Regions from separate parts of the Homo sapiens genome. Here regions 1 and 3 are each linked to region 2. Evidence: promoter capture Hi-C in human tissues and cell types (Jung and others, 2019). All regions are on one chromosome and are shown on one strand. The core of a region is centred on a gene start or on the middle of the fragment in contact, and the rest is flanking DNA. Distances in the headings are between cores, read along the strand shown.

Region 1 (2,945 bases), core at 373-2,872, 510 kb before region 2:
TGGGATTACAGGCACCCACCACCACGCTCGAATATATATATATATTTTTTGAGACGGAGTCCCGCTCTGTCACCAGGCTGGAGTGCAGTGGCACAATATCGGCTCACTGAAACCTCCGGCTCCTGGGTTCAAGCGATTCTCCTGCAGCCTCCCAAGTAGCTGGGATTACAGGCATGCAGCACCACGCCCATCTAATTTTTGTATTTTTGGTAGAGATGGGGTTTTACCATGTTGGCCAGGATGGTCTTGATCTCTTGACCTCGTGATCTGCCCACCTCGGCCTCCCAAAGTGCTGGGATTACAGGCGTGAGCCACCGCGCCCGGCCTACGCCTGGCTAATTTTTGTATTTTTAGTAGAGACGTGGTTTCGCCATGTTGCCCAGGCTGGTCTCGAACTCCTGACCTCATGATCCGCCTGTCTCGGCCTCCCAAAGTGTTGGGATTACAGGTATGAGCCACCGCGCCCAGCCAATTATTATTATTTTTTGAGATGCAGTCTCACTCTGTTGCCCAGGCTGGAGTTGCAGTGGCATGATCTTGGCTCACTGCAATCTTCATCTCCCAGACTGAAGCAGTTCTCATGCCTCAGCCTCCTGAGTAGCTGGGATTACAGGCACACGCCACCACACCTGGCTAATTTTTGTATTTTTAGTAGAGATGGGATTTCACCATGTTGGCCAGGCTGGTCTCAAACTCCTGACCTCAAGTGATTTGCCCACGTCGGCCTCCCAAAGTGCTGGGATTATAGGCGTGAGCCACCGGGCCCAGCCCAAGAGAATAAAAATGTGGGTGGTAAAAATTTTTTTCCCAAAAATTCGTAAATGAAAATCTCACATATTATGCATACTGCCCAGGAGCATGGCCTAGCACTGTGCAAACACTCAACTGCTGGTCGTTGCAAGGATTATTATTGGCCGGCTTCAGTGGCTCGTGCTGGTATTCCCAGCACATTGGGAGATGGAGGCTGGAGGATTGCTTAAGTCCGGGATTTCAAGACCAGCCTGGACAACATAGTGGGATCCCATCTCTACAAAGAATTTTAAAAATTAGCCAGGTGCAGTGGGAAGATTGCTTCAGTCCAGAGGCTGCAGTGAGCTATGATTGTGCCACTGCACTCCAGCCTGGGTGACAGAGCAACACCCTGAGACAGAGAGAGAGAGGGGGAAGGAGGGAAGGAGGGAAGGAAGGAAGGAAGGAAGGAAGGAAGGAAGGAAGGAAGGAAGGAAGGAAAGGAGAGAGAGAGAGAGAGAGAGAGAGAGAGAGAGAGAAAATAATTTTTATTTATTTCCAGGCTGGGAAGAGATGCTGATTTCTGCGATAAAATCAGTAGGTACATTTTTTGGAATGTTCGCTATGTGCCAGGCTAGATTTTACAGATGAGAAGTCTGAAGCTCAGGTAAGGTAAGTCACCTGTCCAGGGCCACAAAGAAAAAAAAAACGTGTGTCTGAAGCCAGAACGGGAGCTGTTGCGGCCCAACTCCCTCCCCTGCCCCCAAGCGGCCTCTGGGCTCGGGAAGGGCCCCTGCCTCCTCCCGCCAGGCACTTATCTCTACCCAGGCTGAGTGCTGGCCCCGCCCCCTCGGGGATCTGCCACTTAGAGGCGCCTGGTCGGGAAGGGCCTGGTCAGCTGCGTCCGGCGGAGGCAGCTGCTGACCCAGCTGTGGACTGTGCCGGGGGCGGGGGACGGAGGGGCAGGAGCCCTGGGCTCCCCGTGGCGGGGGCTGTATCATGGACCACCTCGGGGCGTCCCTCTGGCCCCAGGTCGGCTCCCTTTGTCTCCTGCTCGCTGGGGCCGCCTGGGCGCCCCCGCCTAACCTCCCGGACCCCAAGTTCGAGAGCAAAGGTAAGGATGAGCTGCGTGTGGACCCCTACGCTGGAGCCTGCAGGACCATGCTGGGGCCTGAACTCCCAGCCTAGGTCCTGGGGGCCATGCCTGTTTCTGGACTTCCTGACCGGGTCCTGGGGGCCAAGCTGGCATCTGAACCCTTAGACTGGGTCCTGGATGGGTGGGGGGCGGGGTGGGGTATGTTAGGATCCAAGACTCCTGATCGCGTCCCGGGCAAGAGCTAGAGTGGGCTTAACATTCCCGTTTTACCTTTTCAGGGAGTCTGGGACATGCTAAATCCTAAGGGGGCTGACTTGGTGCTAAGGTCCCTGGGGGGTGGGGACCAAGCCGACCCTCCCTAGGGGAGGGAGGGTAAAGCCCGGGTCCGAGTTAGAGGGGCCAAGCCACAGGCTACTGTAAACACGGTTTGTGTGAGGGCGCCAGATCACTTGCCCGGCCCGGTGGAGGGAGGGAGGCGGGGGGCACGGTTGGCGCTATCGGTTGGCGGGGAGCCTGCCGGGGCCGATAGGGGGCCCGCCTCTCCGCACACACCCCCAGCCGCGCGCGTGTCCTAGGCTGGGGCGGGGCTGGCAGTCCCGAGCTCGAGGTCTTGAACGCCGCGCCCAGCTCAGCTGGCCGCTGGGTGGGCAGGTGTGCGCCAGTGGTGACGGCGGGGGACAGTAAGGCGAGAAACTTGCCCCTGGGAATTAGGGGGGCACCACCTCTGCGGACCCCTCCAAGGGACCCGCTTGGGAAGATGGCAGGGCGGGGCTTTTTTCTTATCGGGTCCGCCCAGGCTGCGGGAGGGAAGAGGAGGGGGCTGTCTCCCGAGGATAGAGCTCAGACCCCCATGCCCTTCCTTTGTCGCCCCTCCCCAGCGGCCTTGCTGGCGGCCCGGGGGCCCGAAGAGCTTCTGTGCTTCACCGAGCGGTTGGAGGACTTGGTGTGTTTCTGGGAGGAAGCGGCGAGCGCTGGGGTGGGCCCGGGCAACTACAGCTTCTCCTACCAGCTCGAGTGAGTCCGATCCGGCGGGTGCCTCCAAGGGCGGAGGGAGGGGGTGGGGCAGAGCTCCCTGGAGGTCGTAGCCTCGTATGTCCCCTGCTGTTTGAGGCCCGACGGC
Region 2 (2,827 bases), core at 160-2,659:
GGACTGCTCCTCGGGCTTTCCTTTAATCGGGCCGTTTCCAAAGTGGCAAAAAATTCACACAGGACCCAAGCTAGCTAGAGGCCTCCTGAGGGGTTCCCCAGGGCATCAGTGCAAGAAGCCCTGAAAGACAAAGCCAAATGACACAGAGTAGCAAAATGTGAACAAGGAATCAAAGAGAAGAGATAAGAAGGAGTAACAAGAAGAAGAATGAACTACAAAGACTGGGAGCGGGGGTGGGGGGTGCTGGCAAACGCATTTGTGATTTTCTTTTCCCCCCAGTGAAATGTCAGTTTTGAAAGCAGCTTCGGAAAATGTAACCAGCTTCTCACATCCCCCAAAAGAAGATGGGAGGAGGCTGTTAGCTCTTACTTCGAAGCCCGGCATCAGGAAGGGGCCCGTCCCGTCCACGTTTCCACGAGGAGCTCACCCTGCGGCTCCCACCGTCCCCGCATGGGCCCTCTCCCCAGATCCTGAAGTTTCCCATTCGGGGGTCCTGAACGCCACACCTCGCACAGCGGTGGAACTCGGTACTCGCGGGCGCCCCAGACCAGCAAACACTTTCCAACCGTCCTGAGCTATCCAGGGGGTCCCCAGAGGGATCCCGGGCCGCCCACGCCCCACCCTCCTCCCTGCAGAGGCGGCCACGCCCGCCCCCGAGACGCCCACCTCTCCCGCACCCCGGACCTCCCTCCCCCACGCTTAAGCCCACCACGCCTGGCGTCCTCCAAATTCCCCTTCCACTCAGAGCCCCCCACTTCCTGCTCACCCACCCCTCCCAAATCTCAGGCCCTTCACTCCCCATTTCGCGCTCCCTTGCTCACTCTGGGCACCTTGCCCCTCCGGCCACCACGCACGCCCTCTTTTCTCTGTCTGTCCCCTGGCACCGGCCCTCCACGGTCGCTCCCTGCAGGCCACCGGCTCAGTCCCGGGGACCCCACGCCAGGCCCCCGCGCTCAGGGCCCCTCCCCGCCGGCCCCCGCCCCGGGCCGGCCTCGTGAGCAGCCCCGGCCCTGCGCCTGCCCCGGGGCCCCGTACTCACGGCTGTAGAGGGCGATGCCCGCCGAGTCCGGGCCGGCGCGCACCTCGAGGCGCAGCGCCTGCTGCTCCGCGTGCCGCTGGATCTCGCCGTTCGCGTCGCCGATGGTGAGGAGGCGGGCGCCGGGGAACACCGACACGGTAGCGCAGGGCCCCGCGCCGCCCGGGACCGCCGACCCCGCGCCGCCCGCGCCCGGCCCCACCGCCGCCGCCGCCGCTGCCATCTTAGATCCGGCTCCAGGCCCCGCCGCCGCCGCCGCTGCGCCCGGGCCCAGGCCGCCGCCGCTGCCGCCGCCGCCGCCGCCGCCGCCGCCGCCGCCGCCGCCGCCGCCGCCGCTGCCGCTACCGCCGCCGCAGCCGCCGTGCAGGCCGAGGCCGAGCCGGGCAGCGCCGCCTGCCGGCCACGCGCCGCCTCGCCGCCGCCGCCGCCACCGTCGCCGCGGCCCGGCCCCGTGGCGCAGCGCCCTCTGCCGGCCGTCCTGGGCGCGGGGAGCTAGCGAGCGAACGAGAGGGCACCCCGTGGGGCGGGACCGGCTACGCCCCGCCCCGCGAGAACGGTCGCCGCTTTGTGAGGTGGCTCCACCGCCCGGGAACTGCGGGGCGGGAGGGTACGTCGGGGGCGGTGCTCGGGCGCGCGGGCACGCCCCTCGGAGGCCTGGGCCCCGCCCCCAGGCCGGCGCCTCATTAACGGCTGCTTTCGAGTGAGGCGGTGCGGGGACGGCGGGGGCGGTGCTCGGCCGCGTGGACACGCCCTGTACCCCGCCCCACACAAGCAGCCGCGCGTCGTGATGCGGCTTCCCTGCCCCGACCTGGACACGCCCCTGAGACTGGGCCCCACCCCCCCGGGCCCGCCCGGCTTTGTGAGGCAGCCCTCAGGGAGGCGTGGCCCAGCCGCGACGAGGCCCCGCCCCCGTGCCTGCCCGCGCCCTCCCACCCGGACTCGCTTTGTCAGCCGCCCCGCTCTGGGGAATGGGCGGGGGAAAGGGCGTGGCCAGCGCCCGGGCCTCGCCCCCAACCCTTCCCCCCACCGCCCCCGCACCGACGATTTCCGATGAGCCCTGGCCTCCAGGAGCAACCTGAGCCCGGTTGAAAGGACCCCTCCCCGACATTCGACCGCTCCTCCTCCCTTCCCCATCATCTCTGCCCACATTGCCTTCTTAATCCTTAATGTTTGACTGTCTCCTTTCGCACAAGATATCCTTTGACCCCCTCCTCTCTCAGCCCCTCCTCCAACGATGCTGAGTCCAGCCTGGCCCGGCGCAGGGCCCCTCTCCCGCCACACAAACCCGTCTTCTCTCTGCATCCCCCTTCATTTTGGGTGGCCCCATCTCTTTTGGGCGACCCAGTGAGCTTGGGCCACTTCCTAGCACTCCAGCTTTAACTCTTCCCTAGACCTCATTTACGCCTCATTCCTTTTTTTTTTTTTTTTTTTTCTTTGAGACGGAGTCTCGCTCTGTCTCCCAGGCTGGAGTGCAATGGCTCGATCTCAGCTCACCGCAACCTCCGCCTCCCGGGTTCAAGTGATTCTCCTGCCTCAGCCTCCCGAGTAGCTGGGACTACAGGCATGCTCTACCACGCCCAGCTAATTTTTTATTTTTAGTAGAGACGAGGTTTCACCATGTTGGTCAGGCTGGTCTTGAACTCCTGACTTCAGGTGATCCGCCCGCCTCGGCATCCCAAAGTGCTGGGCCTACAGGCATGAGCCACCGCGCCCGGCCCCTTTTGTTTTTTGAGACAGGGTCTCACTGTGTTGCCCAGGCTAGAGTGCAGTGGTGCCATCATAGCTTACTGC
Region 3 (2,847 bases), core at 1-2,500, 580 kb after region 2:
AGCGAGGTCTCCAGGCCACCGCGCTCCGGCCGAGGGCAGTTGGTGCTGCAATTCAGCCACAGCGAGCCCCCGCGCTCCACGAACGCCACGCGAGGCTGCAGGTCCGCCCAGAAGGGCTCCTGCGAGACCGCTGCCCAGGGAAACGCGGGCTGAGCCTGGGGAGCCAACTCCCTGACATCTTAGCGCCCCTATGTCGAGTCAAGGGTTCTCAGAGGGCGGGGAGGAGGAGGAGAGGCTGCAGCCAGGGAAAGAACCCAGGCGTCCCGCGTCCTGCCCAGGCCTCCGGTTTAAAGGCGCACTCCCAGAGTCTAAACCTCGAGGGTGTCTCTGGGACGTGGTAGCAGAGAGCCATGGTCTCCAAAGCGCCGATGGAGCGGCGGGAAAGCATGGGGGGAGGGCGTAGAGGAGAGGAAAGGTGGGTTCTTGGATGAACACAGCAAGGCTGAGAGAAGGGGACCCGGGATGGGGGATGGGGGATGAACCAGTTCTCAGGGTCCTGGCAGAATGCCGGGATACGAGGAGAGTGCGTTTGCGGCAAGGGCAAAGGAGAGACGAGGCTGGGTCAAGGATCAGGAAGGACCCTACACCCGGTGAAGAACACGGAGCCGGGACGCAAGGCTGGGCTCATGGAAGGAACCGCGGGAACAGCTGAGGGACCCGGTTGCCAGGGCTCTGGGTGGAGCGGGAACAGCGCCTCTGAGTCAGGGTAGTTGGAGAGATGGAGTCTTCGCGGACCGCGAGTGGGGAAGATGCCAGTCCGTGGACCATGGTGCACAGCACAGCGTAAGGAGGTACCCGGGGAGCGGACAGGAGAGACACTGGGTCTCCAGGGCGAAGGGTTGGGTGCGGAAGAACACCTAGGATCTCGAAGCGGGTAGGGGCTATCGAGGAGTCAGGAAGCTGGGGCTCGGGTGTGTGTTGGGGAGGAGGGGGAAGGGGAGAAGACTCAGGCTCGAGGTGGGGGCAGAGGCGTGGGAGCGAGGCGAGGGCAGAGCTGGGAGGGACAGGAGGCCGTTTCTCAGGTCCAGGGACTCCGCCCCCGCCCTGTCCACCCCGAACCAGAGCGGGGCTCTTACCTGAGAGGCCGAAGAGCCCCAGGCCCAGAGCAGCCCAGAGGCCGAGTAGCGCCCGGCGCAGCCCTGGCGAAGGCCCTGGCATCGCCGCGGCGGGGAAAGCACAGGAGGCGAGGAGAGCGCGAGCCGAGGAGCTGGGCTAGAGGACGGCTCCGCGCGGCGCGGCGGGTGGGGTGTGGGGGAGGCAGAGTTGCGCTTGGGGATTGGTTTAACGTTGGTAACTTGGTTTCCAAGGAGGGGGCGGCGGCAGAGGCGGCGGGGGGGCGGGAGGCGAGCGTGCGCTAAGCTCCTGGCCTTGGTGAAGGCGAGCTGGCAGGAGTGAGCGACCCCTGGGGTCTACGTGGAGGCCGGCATGATGGCCCAGGGCCTTCTGGGGGCGACCACGCTCTCTCGCGTCATCCCCGGCCGCGACTCTGGGATCGGGGGATGCTGGGTTGCCCTTCCCAAACCCCTACCCCAGCCCTGGCTGAGATGCCATGATAATAAGCTGGACTCCGAGCCCCGCCCCCACATTTAGCTCCTCCCACCAGCGCCCCTTAGGGCGGGGATACATTTGGGGACTAAGAGAGATTTGGGAGGCACTGGATGGGGAAAGGACAGTTCTAGGGGAGGGTGTGGGGATGCCTCTCTCACTGATCCTTCTCCTTTTGACCCCGCGGAGCCATACCTCTAAGCACCCCTCCGGGTCAGCTCCCGCACGCGACGGAGGGGGCGGGACGAAAGTGCCAGCGAGCCGAGGACACGTGTGCGTGCGCGCAGCGTTCGCGGGCGTCTAAATTAGAATCCGCTCGGCTCCGGGTCTGTATTTACCCAGGGTGCAGCGGGCACGTGTCTACTCAGCGTGTGTGAGCTCGAGCCACCCTGGAGCGCCCCTGAGTCCGCCTTCTGCTCGGTGGGTGGGGGCCCTGACATCCACGCGAGAACAAGGGACCGAGGGTGATGCTTTTGACTCCGCTTCCGGGCCCCAAGCTTTGACACCCCCCACCCCCAACTCCATGCGCTCATCTGGCTGGGTGACTACCAGAACATCGTCAGAATTCGAGTTTGTGATATTCCCTGTGGACCATCTGATCACCCCTTCCCGGCTGCCACCACATGGATACCTCTTCTGCGTATCCACGTCCCTCAATATGTCCGTGGGACCCTCCCCTCCCCACCATTCGTGGTCTCACTCCAGCGTGGTAAGTTATTTTGGAGATGAGTTCTCGCTCCACAGTTGTTTGGCCTCCAGGAAAGCACAGGGTCTGAAGGTGGGGCTGGGATAGGAAACTTAACATCCAATCAGAGCTGCCGCGTGGTGGCGGCGGCGCCAATCAGGAAAGCCATACCATGAACCCCACCCCGCCCCTGCCCGTGGCTCTCCCCGGCCCGCGCTGATCCCACTCGATAAGGCCAGCAGAAGGAGAGGTTTCTGTGACACCCGCTGGGGATACACAGAGTCTGGGGCTTCGGGACCCCAGGTGGGCCCTGAGTGAGGAAACCTCAGGTGCCCTCAGGGAGACAAGGAACTTGGAGAAAGTGATCGCAAAAACAACAACAACAACAAAAACAAACCAGTTCCTCCGAAGAAGGGCAGTAATGCGGACCCTTAGGTCACAGGACAGAGGCTGGTTAAGGAAGCCTTTATTGATTCCAGAGGGTTCCCCCGCCAATATTTATTTTTATTTTTATTTTATTTTTGGAGACAGGGTCGTGCTCTGTCCCCCAGGCTGGAGTGCAGTGGCACGATCAAGGCTCACTGCAACCTCGACTTTCAGGGCTCAAAGGATCCTCC

The links. Contacts are between HindIII fragments. The study calls those that stand out against the background at their distance.
Region 1: the fragment with the promoter of EPOR here is called in contact with the fragment with the promoter of CARM1 in region 2 in 1 of the 25 tissues and cell types used here (dorsolateral prefrontal cortex).
Region 3: a contact is called between the fragment with the promoter of ICAM5 here and the fragment with the promoter of CARM1 in region 2, in 1 of the 25 tissues and cell types used here (spleen).

What each region holds. Positions count from the first base shown.
Region 1 is chr19:11,382,991-11,385,935 of GRCh38, reverse strand. EPOR (erythropoietin receptor) reads left to right here and starts at 1,622. Exons shown (of 8, transcript NM_000121.4): 1 at 1,622-1,843; 2 at 2,704-2,839. The coding sequence starts at 1,729. RefSeq lists a silencer at 2,323-2,382. The HindIII fragment of the contact is 19,405 bases long and covers 1-2,945 here.
Region 2 is chr19:10,870,135-10,872,961 of GRCh38, reverse strand. It overlaps CARM1 (coactivator associated arginine methyltransferase 1), which reads right to left and starts at 1,409. Exons shown (of 16, transcript NM_199141.2): 1 at 1,040-1,409. The coding sequence starts at 1,259. RefSeq lists an enhancer at 1-139 and silencers at 880-1,089, 1,180-1,229, 1,360-2,149. The HindIII fragment of the contact is 23,799 bases long and covers 1-2,827 here.
Region 3 is chr19:10,288,355-10,291,201 of GRCh38, reverse strand. It overlaps ICAM5 (intercellular adhesion molecule 5), which reads right to left and starts at 1,250. Exons shown (of 11, transcript NM_003259.4): 1 at 1,077-1,250; 2 at 1-130. The coding sequence starts at 1,158. It overlaps ICAM4-AS1 (ICAM4 antisense RNA 1), which reads left to right and starts at 2,183. Exons shown (of 1, transcript NR_186335.1): 1 at 2,183-2,847. ICAM4 (intercellular adhesion molecule 4 (Landsteiner-Wiener blood group)) reads right to left here. Exons shown (of 3, transcript NM_001544.5): 3 at 2,682-2,847. RefSeq lists a silencer at 2,326-2,395. The HindIII fragment of the contact is 10,372 bases long and covers 1-2,847 here.